Linked DNA regions of Homo sapiens: all the other regions are linked to region 5. Evidence: promoter capture Hi-C in 16 types of primary human blood cells and fetal thymus (Javierre and others, 2016). All regions are on one chromosome and are shown on one strand. The core of a region is centred on a gene start or on the middle of the fragment in contact, and the rest is flanking DNA. Distances in the headings are between cores, read along the strand shown. Region 1 has its middle 14 kb from the start of ZNF501. Region 2 overlaps TOPAZ1 (testis and ovary specific TOPAZ 1). Region 3 overlaps KIF15 (kinesin family member 15). Region 4 holds the start of KIAA1143. Region 5 holds the start of ZKSCAN7 (zinc finger with KRAB and SCAN domains 7).

Region 1 (2,700 bases), core at 198-2,697, 190 kb after region 5:
AAACCTAGAGCTGCCATTAGCCTAAGAATGACTGTGGGGCCAATGGGGAGGATTCCTAACGTCAAACCTGGACAGATGCCTTCTGTCTGCTCTTTCTCCTCCCTGAAAGACTCCATGCATGATCTGGGAGAAGCCATAGGTTGGTGAGAGTAGGTGTCAGTTGAAAGATAGTTTCTATAGTAGAGTTTATTGCTTTCTGGGGGAGAGAGCAGGCCCAGGAGTGGGGAAAGGGCCACAGAAACAGGCGCCTGGAAACTCAGACATGTGTCTTCCTTCCCAATGTGACTGTCTGGCCCTGGTTGTCTTGAGCCATCCAGCCAGATATGACTGTATGTTGTGCTGTTTTGTGTCAAACATCAGAACACCTCTGACCTTTACAAAGTGGGAGGGAATCCCTTGTGGGCTGCAGGACTCCTAACAATTAAAAAAAAAAAATCCCACTAATACCTAGAACTGCGCTAACACAGTAGCTACGACCCATTTGTGGCTATTTAAATTTAAATAATTAAGTAGAAGGAAAAATTCAGTTCCTTGGTTGCTCTAGCCACATTTCAAGTGCTTAATAGCCATAGGTGGCTAGGGCAGAATGTTCTATTGGACAACACTTGGACTTGATGTTTGGAAGTCCCAGACAGTAAATTTCAACATATTTTTTGGACGCTGGTATAGATTTTTCAACCTTTTGGCAAAGTAAGTACAATAAACTACCACCTGTCAAAATCATTATTTCATAAAATAAAGTATATTTTAACTTCAAAGAAACAAGAAAGATATAATCTCAGAATAAAGGACTCGTTCAGAAGAGAGGATAATTTGACACCTTTACACTGACCCTTTTGACCCCAGACAAGCCCTGGAGTCTGTATTGGCATTTATGTGCCATTGCCATACCCTAGGATTCTGGCCTCTTTAGTACTGGACATCGGTTGCCCTTGTGCCCTATCCTTGAAAAGGACATCAGGAAGGCCCTAGCAGGATCTTCGTGGCCTTTGGGAGTGAGGTGTCCTTCTCAGTGCATATCAGTAGGTCATGATGTCAGTATGACATTTTTTTTTTTTTTTTGAGACGGACTGTTGCTCTTGTTGCCCAGGCTGGAATGCAAAGGCTCATCGCAACCTCTGCCTCCCAGGTTCAAGCGATTCTCCTGCCTCAGCCTCCCAAGTAGCTGGGATTACAGGCATGTGCCACCATGCCCGGCTAATTTTGTATTTTTAGTAGAGATGGGGTTTCTCCATGTTGGTCAGGCTGGTCTCAAACTCCCGACCTCAGGTGATCCACCTGCCTTGGCCTCCCAAAGTGCTGGGATTACAGGCGTGAGTCTGGCATCAGTATGACTTATTACTGGTAATATTAACTTTGATCAGGCAGTTAAGGTGACATTTGCCTAGTTTCTCCACTGTAATGTTACTAGCTTTTCTTTCTTCTTTTCTTTTCTTTTTTTTTTTTTTGAGACAGAGTCTCACTCTGTCCCCCAAGCTGGAGTGCAGTGGTGCAGTCTTGGATCACTGCAAGCTCCACCTCCCGGGTTCACGCCATTCTCCTGCCTCAGCCTCCCAAGTAGCTGGGACTACAGGCGCCCGCCACCACGCCCGGCTAATTTTTTGTATTTTTAGTAGAGATGGGGTTTCACCATTCACAGGATGGTCTCGATCTCCTGACCTTGTGATCCGCCCGCCTCAGCCTCCCAAAGTGCTGGGATTACAGGCATGAGCCATCACGCCTGGTCACTAGTTTTTCTTTTGTAATTAGTGTCTTGTGGGGAGATACTTTGAGACTGTGAAAATACTCTGGTTTTGAGCATAATTTTGGCCACTAATTTTGGCATCCTTTGATGAGTCTTTCCAACAGCACTTGTGTATTAGTTTCCTATGGCCGCTATAAAAAATTATCACAAACTTGGTGGCTTAGAACAACAGAAATTTATTCTCTCAGAATTCTGGATGCCAGAAGTTTCAAATCAGCTACTCTGCTCAAATCAAGATGTTGGCAGGGCCATGTTCTCTCCAAAGGCTTTAGGGGAGAATCCATTGCTTGTCTCTTCCAGCTTCTGGTGCAGCCAGTATTCCTCAGCTTATAGCCACATCACTCCAGTCTCTGCCTCCATCTTCACATTTCCTATTGTGCCTAATCTCCCTCTATCTGTCGTTTATAAGGAAAGGTGTGAGTGTAATGGCATTTAGGACCCACTTATATAATCCAGGATAATCCACTTATCTCAAGATTGTTAATTTAATCACTTTTGCAAAAACTACCACGTAAGTTACCATTCACAAGTTCCAGGATCAAGACCCGTTGTCTTTAGGGACCATCATTCAGCCCGCTAAATTTTTTTACTGTGGAATTTGCCAAATACTGTTTCTATTTCCATAATTCCTCCTAACTTTATTAAAATTCTACTATAAGGAAGACCTAGCCCTTCTCATGTGTTCAAAATATATATATATTGTTTATATCAATAAGAATTTTATGAGTTGTTATCTACTATCATTAATTCCTTGTTCAAATTGCCCCAGATTTGGCCATTGGTAACTCCTGCTAGTTGGCTCCTGTATCCTTTTGACATGCCTTCATCATTTTTATATTTTTGAGACAGGATTTCATTCTGTCTCCCAGACTGGACTGCAGTGTTGTGATCACAGCTCACTGCAGCCTCAACCTCCTGGGATCAAGCAATCCTCCCACCTTAGCCTCCCAAGTAGC
Region 2 (2,700 bases), core at 145-2,644, 230 kb before region 5:
AGACAAGCATTTTTATCATTCCCTTTTCCCTACTTCTGTCAAGTCATCAGCAAACAATATGTTTAAATGCCCTGAGCAAGCTTTTTCTCTTATCACTGAATAAATACAGAACTTAGTTTACATTACCTAGGAACACAGGTAAACTTGAAAGAAATGGAGGAAGTGAAACAGATGCCAAGTTCAAACGCCAATGTGGGAAATGGTAGTCAGTACTCTTGAATGTTGGGTGTCCATGAGCAAAAGCTTTGGGTCAAGAATGAGCTATGTGATAGGTTCAGAGGATGACGAAAACGTTAACCTGAGGGCCTCCCCTCAGTACTTTCATCGTACTATCTATAAATTTTCATTTTTCCACTTAATTCCACTGTGCTCCTGTATTGTAATGAGCATTCTTATCTGTTTCTCCTTATACAAAGTGAGCTCAATCAGGATGGTACTATTTTCTTTACCTTGGTATTCCTGGCCCAATGGCTGCTATCTAGCAATCTCTTAATATACAATTAGTTGGTAATGAAACAAAGTAGTAATAGGGAGATTGGACAGATAGTTGTGCCAGATTTTGGAAGACCCTAAATGTCAGGCTAAAGGAATTTTCTTCTCTGTGTATAAAAAGGGATCACTAGAGTTTTGGGTCTAGGGAGTGATATAATGAAATTGGTGTTTCAGGAAAGTTCCTCTGGCAGTAGTGTTTAGGAAAAGACTAAAAGTAGAGAGATTAATTTCCTGATAAGTCCTGGATAACTAAAAGATTCTAAAGCAGTAAGGAACTACAGTCTAGCTCACAGACCCAACTGACTGAATATAGGGAATAAAAGAGAAGTCTCTAAGATGACTTCTCTTTCTTCTAAGAATAACTGAAGGAATAGAAAATCCATTAAAGGATTGTTTTAAATTTGGCAGTAAATATTTATTAGGGGATGATTTGTTTTTAGTCAAGGGATATATAAGGCTAAGGTCTGAACTGTAGATATAATACAAACAGAATTGAGAAATTATTCAAGACACTACAGATACACAGTTACATGTGGGAATCAAATACAGAGGTCTTAATGCATCCTCTGAAATTTTTGTCAAGCTTCTTTTTATCTTCTCTATTGCAAAGGAAGTTAATGGTTTTTCTTTTGTCAAATGCTTTTTCGTTTCTGACTTAGAGAATATGTAAGATAGGTTGGGCGCGGTGGCTCATGCCTGTAATCCCAGCACTTTGGGAGGCTGAGGCAGGCAGTTCACTTGAGCCCAGGAATTTGAGATCAGACGATATGGGCGTGTTCAGGGTGGTATGGCCATAGATGAGCCCAGGAATTCGAAACTAGTCTGGGCAACATGGTGAAACCCTGCCTCTGCAAAAAAACATAAAAATTAGCCAGGCCTGGTGGACCTGTAGTCCAAGCTACTTAGGAGGCTGAGGCGAGAGGATGACTTGAGCCCAGGAGGTGAAGGTTGCAGTGAGCCAAGATCATGCCACTGCACTCCAGCCTGGCTGACAGAGTGAGACCCTGTCTCAAAAAAGGAGAAGAAAAATAAAGAGAATATATAAAATGATTGCATTTTAGTGACTGTGAGTCCTATAATGGGTAAGAAAGGGTGAAGGGGAGGAGAAAGAAAAAGGAGTATGAGATGGAGGTTTGAGACACTTTAATATAAATGAATTTTATTATATCATTTTTTTTATTCCAGAAACTGTGGAAGTCTCACAATATAGCCTTCTTTTTAATAAGCTTCTAGGTTCCTGTATAGAAAGCAGTAGTCTTGGTATGTCATCCTCTGTGGCAGAATTCATGATTTCAAAGAGCATCCCTATTGATTTTTCCTTTCTCAGAAGATTAATTACTTCTTTAGGAAGGAGTCGTTTATGGCTCAAAGCCAGAGCCCACTACAAAAGTAAGTTACATTTAAAATGTTTTAATATATTGGTTTATAATTGTATTCTCTAACCCAGAATTTATAATATATAAGATTAGATATTTATATGTATTAAAAGAGCAGTAATACATATTCAAATGTAGTGGTCTCAACAGATCTGTGCTCTCTTTTGAAACCTATTGTTTCTCTTCTGTTTCCAGTTGCTTTCCTTATTTCCAATGTTTGCAATTTCCAATCTTTATTTCTTGCACAGTAGCCTGTCCGCTAGAGGGCGAGCAAAGGGAACAAATGACAGGATAGAACCAGTTTGGCATATCTTATAAATAATGCAAGCATAAAACAAGTGGGTAGAATGAAGTTTAAAGAAGATCTGTTTTTATTTATCTCTGCTATATCCCTAATTGTTATAACTAAAAATATTCAATAGCAGGTCACATCAGAAGCATAAAGGCTGTCATAACAATGCAACATAGTATATGTTTTTCACATGGCTTTTAGTAATAGAACTTTGTTAATCTACTTACAGCTGTTGTTCTCTAACAAATAAGCCTGGAAAACTAGTGCTTTCTCTAGTCCAAGCCACCTCGCAGGTATTTTAATTAGAAAGTAATTCCATGTACGTTCTAGATCTAGAAAAGCATTGTTTTTTCTGCCTTCATGCAGTAATTTGTCTTCAGCTACCATTTCTACCACTATCATGTATATAACAAATATTTGAGTGCCTACTCTGTGTCACCCCGTACCAAATGTGTCAAATATCCTAGCCACTACTACCTGAGCTGGAAGTGTTTTTCAGGTGGCCAGCTGTGATCAATGCAGCAGGTGGTAACTTTTTTT
Region 3 (2,700 bases), core at 82-2,581, 240 kb after region 5:
ATAGAGATGGGGTTTCACCATTTTGGCCAGGCTGGTCTTGAACTCCTGACCTCAGGTGATCCACCCTCCTTGGCCTCCCAAAGTGTTGGGATTACAGGCGTTAGCCACCACGCCCAGCCTAAAGCTCATATTTCTATTGAGATATGAGGCTTAATAAATATAGCATATGGGTTGAGCATGGTGGCTTATGCCTGTAATCCTAGCACCTGGGAGGCTGAGGTGGGAGGATCCCTCGAACCCAGGAGGTCGAGATTGCAGTGAGCTGTGATTGTGCCACTGTGCTCCAACCTGGGTGACAGAGTGAGACTCTGTGTCAAAAAAAGCATATGCTTATAATAGGACATATACCAAGTCTGTTCTAAAATGCTTTACATATATTAATTCATTTAACCTTCCCAACAACTCTGGGAAGTAGGTGCTATTCTTTCTATTTTACAGTTAAAGAAACCGAAGTCACACAGCTAATAAAGGTAGAGCTGAGATTCAAACCGAGCTGCTACAGTACTCTCAACCATGCCACTAACCACCTTTCTGATTTACTGAATGATAACAGCAGTGACTCTGAATTCAGTACATCTTGCATTATAATTTTGACTTTTTCTCTTTTTTGTATACTCCTTCCACTGCAGACCCAGTTTTCAAAATATGCTACCTACAGTAAAAATCTAATGTAACGTATTTAGCTCATTTTTTCCCCCCACCAAGCTTCTGTTTTAAAGTAGTTTTTATTATCCTTTACAGAATTAAACTGAATATTCTCCTCAAATAAGTTCATCAGTGGCTTTGGGGGCTGTATGGGTGAGTTATTAGGCATTATACCCTTAAATATTTTAGCATAAAAGGATTGAAAAAAGTACCTATTAATGCACTACTCTAGCTTTTTTTTCCCTATTTTTTTCTGGTCTTTATAGCTCGGTTTCAAACTATTACAATCATGAAGTGACATTAATATTTTTTTTCTTTGCATGATTTTTGTGTTTGTCTTTTTTTGTTGTTGTTTTTGAGAGAGGGTCTCACTCTGTCACCCAGGTTGTAGTGCAATGGCACAATCTCAGCTCACTGCAACCTCCACCTCCCAAGCTCAAGTGATCCTCCCACCTCAGCCTCCCAAGTAGCTGGGACTACAGGCATGTGCCACCATGCCCAGCAGTTTTTTGTATTTCTTTGTAGAGATGGGGTTTTGCCATGTTGCCCAGGCTGGTATCCAACTCCTGAGCTCAAGCAACCTGCCCACCTCGGCCTCCCAAAGTGCTGGGATGACTAGCATGAGCCACAGTGCCAGCCTGTGTTTGTCTTCTAATACTAAAATTACAGTGTACATCAAATAGGAAAAGGTTAGGGATAGTTCAGCACTTCTTTTTTATTTGTTGAATAGTTGTTCTTTATTAACATTGTCCCTGACTTGCCTTTTCATCCAGAATTTTCCTCTGCTAGATATATTTTCATTCAAAATACCAAAGAGTAACCAACGTACCTAAATTTTTGTTCTTTTCCGTCAACACTTTAGGAAGCAGGTAACATAAATCGATCATTGAGCTGCCTGGGCCAAGTGATTACAGCACTTGTCGACGTGGGTAATGGAAAACAGAGACATGTTTGCTACAGAGACTCCAAACTTACCTTCTTACTACGGGTAAAGTAGATCCTTGGGTTCCTGGGCTCCTTTTGGTTATGCTAAAGTTGATAGTGGGACAGTCTCTCAGCCTTGGTGGCAAGAGTATACATTTTCTTTGCTTAAAAAGGTCTTGTGATTTCTCACCGAAAATATGTTCATTCCTATCATTAAACAGGATTCCCTTGGAGGTAATGCCAAAACAGCCATAATTGCAAATGTTCATCCTGGATCCAGGTGTTTTGGGGAAACCCTATCAACACTTAACTTTGCTCAAAGAGCCAAGCTGATTAAAAACAAGGTAAAATACTGGCGTATACTTCATTAAATAAATGAGAAAAATACTAAAGCTTACAGTATGCCATTTTTGTGATTGCCCTAATATTAACATTAACTTTTATTTATTTCTCATTGTATGCAAAATTTCTATTTTATCTTTCCTACCCTTCTATATCACACATGTAATTAGAGACCTAGGTTAGATCTTATGGTTGTTATTGCTTGACTAGTTTTTTCTTTTTTTTTGAGACACAGTCTTGCTGTGTCACCCAGGCTGGAGTGCAGTGGTGCAAACACAGCTCACTCTAGCCTCAACTTCCTGGGCTCAAGCGATCCTCCTGCCTCAGCCTCCTGTGTAGCTGGAACTACAGGCATGCAGCACCATGCCAGGCTAATTTTTTTATTTTTTTAATTTTTATTTTATTTATTTTTTATTTATTTATTTTTTTGAGACAGAGTCTTGCTCTGTCACCCAGGCTAGAGTGCAGTGGTGCGATCTCTGCTCAGCTGGGACTACAGGCGCCCACCACCACGCCCGGCTAATTTTTTGTATTTTTTAGTAGAGACGGGATTTCACCGTGTTAGCCAGGATGATCTCGATCTCCTGACCTCGTGATCCGTCTGCCTTGGCCTTAATTTTTTTATTTTTTGTACAGGTAGGATCTCACTTTGTTGCCCAGGCTCGTCTCAAACTCCTAGGTTCAAGCAGTCCTCCTGCCTCATCCTTTCAAAGTGCTGGGATTACAGGTGTGAACCACTGTACCCAGCTGACAAATTTTTTCTTAAGGGAAAGCAAATTAAGTATGTGA
Region 4 (2,700 bases), core at 121-2,620, 210 kb after region 5:
GTAGCTGTTTTGCTTTCTTGTCATTCATGTGTTCAATACTGATCCCTCCGGCCCTAGACAACAATAGTCAGGTGTGGCTCTTTCCTGAAGCTCCTCTTCTTCTATTTAGACCCAGGATATTTACGGCTTCTGCTTACTCTTCTTTTTTTTCTTTTTTTTGAGACGGAGTCTCGCTCTGTCGCCCAGTCTGGAGTGCAGTGGCGCGATCTCGGCTCACTGCAAGCTCCTCCTCCTGGGTTCACGCCATTCTCCTGCCTCAGCCTCCCGAGTAGCTGGGACTACAGGCGCCCGCCACCATGCCTGGCTAATTTTTTGTATTTTTAGTAGAGACGCGGTTTCACTGTTTTAGCCAGGATGGTCTCGATCTCCTGACCTCGTGATCTGCCGCCTCAGCCTCCCAGAGCGCTGGGATTACAGGCGTGAGCCACCAGGCCCGGCTTTTTTTTTTTTTTTTTGAGACGGAGTCTCGCTCTGTTGTCCAGGCTGGAGTGCAGCTGCGCCATCTCAACTCACTGCAACGTCCACCTCCCGGGTTCGAGCGATTCTGTCTCAGCCTCCGGAGTAGCTGGGACTACAGGCATGTGCCACCATGCCCGGCTAATTTTTGTATTTTTAGCAGAGACGGGGGGTTTCACCATATTGGCTATTGGCTCTGCTGGTCTCGAACTCCTGACCTCAGGTGATCCGCCCACCTAGGCCTCCCAAAGTACTGGGATTACAGGCGTGAGCCACTGTGCCCGACCTTCTCTATATTATTTTTATTTATTTTTAATTAACAAAGCATAGAAACAGATTCAGGACATTCCTCCGAAGACGTTCCAGACTCGAGTCCTAGGACATGGTTGGGGCGGGGGTCATTTGATCGAGTGGCCTGTGTCCTTATCTGGAATACGGGACGACGCTGTAACTCTAACTCACCCTGCGAACTCACAGCTTTTGAGGTAAACAAGTGAGAAAGAAGAGACAATAAAGTGATCTTTCTTTACCATCTACCAAGGACCAGGTGGTTTACACGTCAGTTCATTTTCAGGAACACAGCAGCGCTCTGAAAACTACAGAGCTTCCTGGGCGTAGGGGGCTGTGGTCGCTTGAAAAGAACCAGCCTGGGGGTCCGAGTTCCACCGGAATTGGGTTCGAGCGCGGGTGAAAAGAGGGACCCGACAGCACCCACCCTCCAAGTAGAGGCAAAAGTTGAAAGTGGCGGGCTGGCTGCGCTTCCGAAGAAACACGACTGGCGAAGGCTCACCTTAGTCTCTACGGTGGGTCCCTCCCTGTAGCCGACCCGTTCCTTGAAGCGGGCCAGAAACGCCGGCTCGGCTGGCCGCACGTACGATACCTGGTTCCGCTTGCTCATGGTAGCTCTGGGTAAAGACAGAAGACAGGTTCCGCGACGGATTCGCGACGATACAGAGGCGCTTAGCTGTGACGTCACTGGGCCACGCCCCCGATGCGTAGGCCGGGCAACATGGCGGCCTCCATGCGGGCGTCAACGTCCGATCCAAGCGCCAAATTCAAATTTGCGGCCATCTTGAGCGGGCGGAATTCAGTCGCGCGCGGTGCAGTCGGGAGGTGGAGGCACCGGCTGCATTGTTTTCGGGATCGAGGGGTGAGGGCGCTATGGCACCCGGCTGCAAAAGTAAGTCTGGGCCCCCGGCTTCGTTACCCTATTTTTGCCCCCAAATACAGCTGTGAAAGGATGGCAGCCTCGGACCGCCCGCAAGGTTCTTGCTAGGCATGAACTGCAGGAGCTGAGTGACCGGCGGGGACGTTTGGGAATCCCGCTCTGTCGCTCAAAGACAATACGCTAGCCGAAAAGCTCATCCCTTCCTTCAGTGTCCTGTGCGCATGCCAGGAGTCTGGCGCAGTTCTAGGCGCTCGGGATGAGCAGTGGACCTGACGTTCTTCCCTTTCTTTCCCTTGGTTCTGCTGTTTCTTCGCAGGCCTCTTCCCACATCCCGACCAGGGCTACCTCTCTAGATATCCTTGTCTCAGGATCGGCTTTTGCTCCCACCAGCTTCTGCGTATTTCTACATTTCTGACCTTCCTATAGGGAAGGGTTTATTTATATTCCAAACATTTCTTTCTCCTCTTTCCTTAAATAAATGGAATGTTAAAACACAGATGTCAGCAATGTCTTTATGTTCTCACAGTCTCTATTTTCACTTAAAGGAGACCCGTCCGATTTCTTTCTCTTTTTCACGGAGGAGAGCACTGTCATTTTGCTTATGATAAACCCTACAGTTTTCACTAACGTAGTCATTTGCTGTGCCTGTGTACGTGCTCCACTTCTCACATTGCCACATCTCTTAAGGAGTCTTATTTTTGTAAACCTGATTATGAGCTGATTTAATGGGATCTTTGTGAGTGGTCTGAATGGTAATGAGGAGAGGCCTGGATTAGATGATTAAGAATTTGTGAACTTCTGTCATTTGAGCTTTCCAACGCCGTTAATGTTTCTAGCTTTCTGTCAATTGTAGTCGTTTTTGATGGGTTTGTTGTTTCATTAATCTTTTAGGTCGATCACACCTAATCGGAACACCTCCTTATGCTACCTTTTTGCATATAAAATATTCCTTTTCCTTTCATCATTTTCAGTATTCAAGGACTATGAGCTCACAAAATGGTACCTTATTGGAGAGAAATGTTCATCCTGCTTTCTGAACAATCATACTGTTTGTTCTTTGTTTCCACTTTATGGAT
Region 5 (2,700 bases), core at 61-2,560:
TCCTATAATAGGAAGCCAGGACTGCAGGACAACACGTGGTCAAGGAGACCTGAAAATCAGGTCTGAGAGCATTTAGCCTGGCCTTGGGAGATTTCCTCCTCAAGAATCCTAAGCTTCTGGGGCCTTGATTTGCCTTCCACCTCAAGAATCCTAAGCTTCTGAGGCCTTGATTTGCCAGTAGGCAATGTCTAGCATCAATGTCAGGCAGAGGCTGGGGTTCCTGGTTTTAAATAGCCAAAACCTCCTTGTGAGATTTCCAAATGGAGAGGGGGACCTTGATGACAGGAAACCACCATTAGGATCAATGGACAAAGATTGCTCCAAGAGATTACTTTTAAGCTTGTGGAAACTCTGGAGCAGGACTTCTGGTGTCTTTGTTTCTATCTTGGCTCACACAGATATATGAGGAACATATGTCAGGGCCAGGGTTAGGCCCAGGGCACCTTTGAAATATTGCCATCCCTAGACAGTCCAGGAGACTGTTTACTTTGGGCCCTGTAAAGGACCTATCTCCTGTGCTATAATAAAGATACACAGTTAACTTCATCACACCCTTTGCCCTTCACCCGTGGTCATTAACACACAGGGCCTGCTCAACCATGTTTGTAACAAGGACCAGTTCATATCCTCCTTCTGTATGCAAACCATTCTTCAAAGTGAAAGTCACCTGGGTACCACCTGCCACCCAGAGGCTAGACAACTGCCTACTAGGTTACAAACTGTCCCCACACCTTCTCAGTTTATCTGCTTCTTGGTCTCCCTAGGAACCTCTACATGGACACCAGAATGCTGGTGCTGTCTTACGAAATATTAACCACATTTATGGGCCAAAATATCACAATTTCTAGACATGCTTCTTCATTTTTAAGATGGGAGATGCTTGCTGCTCCCTTCACTGAGACTTCAGATTGGGCATCACACATGGTATAACTGACTGCTCAGGATATGCCAGGCCTTTTGCTATGTAGTGTCTGTTAACCTCATGCGGTGCTCCCAGCCCTGTGAGGTACGCATTATGCTCTGCATTTTTTTCAGATGAGAAAACAGGCTTGGAGGTTGGGTATCTTTCCCAAGGACACCTGGAGGAGAAGGTGTAGAGCTGGGACGCGTCTGGATCCCCCGACTATGGCCTGAGAGCGGGATGTGAGTGGCCTGGGCCCTCGCGAGACCCCGACCCCGCCCGCGGCAGGTGGCCGGGCACAGCCGAGAAGTAAGCCCTGCCAGCTCTCCCGGGTGCGGGGACGCGCGCGCCCACCTTCGCAAACGAGACTTCCGGGATCCCGGAGGGGGCGGAAGTCGAGGCCTCTCTCGCTTCCGGCTCGGCCATTGTTTTTGGTCTAACGGGCAGTAGAGTGTCCGGCTTCGGTGCCGAGTGCCACCGCGAGTGGGCCGAGACGCGGAGGGAGGCGCGGCCGGAGCTCGGGTCGCCGACGCTGGCCAGGACCGCGCTTCTTCCCGGCGGCAGGCGGCGCGGTCCCCGTGACTCTCAGAAGCCGCCCGATGTAGAGCCGCTTCTTTGTCTCATACCCCTGACCATTCGTGCGTGGCACGGAGCCGGGTATCTGCGGGTACAGCGATGAACAGGGCAGACGTGGCCAGGTGAGCGGCGCTGCTGAAGCCTGGTTTAACACGAAAGGTAGATCGCTGTTTTCCCAGCTCTTGCAGTAGGAAACTGTATGAACTGTCATATTTGGGTCAGACCCAGGCTCAGAATCGCAAACGTGGAGCGTGACTTGGAAATGCAAAAATCCAATTGAGATTTTAAAGTGCTGAGCATTCGGAACACTATGGGAAGCAGGAGAATGGCCTGAACTTTCTACATATATGGGATCTTAGAGCAGAGTTTACAGATTATTTTAAAGTCCTTCTTTGTCTTTTTAAAGAGATTGAGACACAGGGATCTGGGCTCTTGGTGAACTGGAAGCACAGCACAGATGCCCTAGTTACCAGTAAGGTGCTGATTTTAAAACGTTCAAAGTTTTCCTCCACTTCAGTGTCAGCTAAATGTATCATATTCATTCATTTCCCAATTATGTGTGCCATGTGCACACGTGTACAAAGATGACTGGAAGTCAGCTCTGCCCTTTGTATCCTCCCAGAAAGCAGGGGAGACAGTCGTGTAAACCACAAACGATTACAGTGTGAGATGTGCTCTACTAGAGGTTTGAATGAAAAAGGTAGTTTGGGATCACTGAGACAATAACCACCTCTCTAAGCCTAGCGTGATCAGGAAGGCTTTCTAGGGGAGGTGCATTGAGTAAAAAAAGGTCTAGTATTTTCTGATTCCATTTGGTTCCTTTCCTTTGGTGGCCGTGCAGCAGTTTGGAGGGTGAGAGTGGTGAGTTGTGCATAAACCAGTTAAAGGGTTATAGTGAGAGGTACACAAAGGGAAGCTACCAGCACTCTTCCTGATGGGGCAATCAGGAAAACCAAGAAAAAGTTGCCTTTGTTCATGGTCTTGACAGACAAGTTTGCCAAAAGTTGAAGAAGAAAAATTCAAAGAAAGAGTATGTGTGGCTTCTAAGTGTGTCTCTAGAGCTTTAGCTCCAAACTTTCTTTATTTTGCATTTCTATCAGTAGAAGAGGTTTGATCACTTACTCCCTACATTGGTTTATTTGTAATTTAAACATGAATACTACTATACAAATTGTAATGCACATTATAAAACATACATTAAATAGGAGTTAAATAACTTAGTA

The links. The method cuts DNA at HindIII sites, captures the fragments that hold promoters and counts their contacts. A CHiCAGO score of 5 or more calls a contact.
Region 1: a contact is called between a fragment that was not itself captured here and the fragment with the promoter of ZKSCAN7 in region 5, in 1 of 17 cell types (erythroblasts). The highest score is 5.1, in erythroblasts.
Region 2: a fragment that was not itself captured here is called in contact with the fragment with the promoter of ZKSCAN7 in region 5 in 1 of 17 cell types (megakaryocytes); the score reaches 5.8 in megakaryocytes.
Region 3: a contact is called between a fragment that was not itself captured here and the fragment with the promoter of ZKSCAN7 in region 5, in 1 of 17 cell types (endothelial precursors). The highest score is 5.7, in endothelial precursors.
Region 4: a contact is called between the fragment with the promoter of KIAA1143 here and the fragment with the promoter of ZKSCAN7 in region 5, in 9 of 17 cell types (erythroblasts, M1 macrophages, megakaryocytes and 6 more). The highest score is 9.3, in erythroblasts.

What each region holds. Positions count from the first base shown.
Region 1 is chr3:44,742,125-44,744,824 of GRCh38, forward strand. No RefSeq gene overlaps it. Among named protein-coding and RNA genes, the nearest start is that of ZNF501, 14 kb to the left of the region's middle. The HindIII fragment of the contact is 4,209 bases long and covers 1-2,700 here.
Region 2 is chr3:44,321,415-44,324,114 of GRCh38, forward strand. It overlaps TOPAZ1 (testis and ovary specific TOPAZ 1), which reads left to right. Exons shown (of 20, transcript NM_001145030.2): 18 at 1,678-1,881. Among named protein-coding and RNA genes, the nearest start is that of TCAIM, 16 kb to the right of the region's middle. The HindIII fragment of the contact is 643 bases long and covers 1,074-1,716 here.
Region 3 is chr3:44,796,044-44,798,743 of GRCh38, forward strand. It overlaps KIF15 (kinesin family member 15), which reads left to right. Exons shown (of 35, transcript NM_020242.3): 9 at 1,508-1,633; 10 at 1,791-1,913. Among named protein-coding and RNA genes, the nearest start is that of KIF15, 36 kb to the left of the region's middle. The HindIII fragment of the contact is 1,257 bases long and covers 704-1,960 here.
Region 4 is chr3:44,760,249-44,762,948 of GRCh38, forward strand. It overlaps KIAA1143, which reads right to left and starts at 1,371. Exons shown (of 3, transcript NM_020696.4): 1 at 1,247-1,371. The coding sequence starts at 1,354. It overlaps KIF15 (kinesin family member 15), which reads left to right and starts at 1,546. Exons shown (of 35, transcript NM_020242.3): 1 at 1,546-1,636. The coding sequence starts at 1,618. RefSeq lists enhancers at 1-526, 1,317-1,596. The HindIII fragment of the contact is 21,704 bases long and covers 1-2,700 here.
Region 5 is chr3:44,553,883-44,556,582 of GRCh38, forward strand. It overlaps ZKSCAN7 (zinc finger with KRAB and SCAN domains 7), which reads left to right and starts at 1,311. Exons shown (of 6, transcript NM_001288590.2): 1 at 1,311-1,599. RefSeq lists silencers at 1,065-1,114, 1,225-1,364. The HindIII fragment of the contact is 2,808 bases long and covers 338-2,700 here.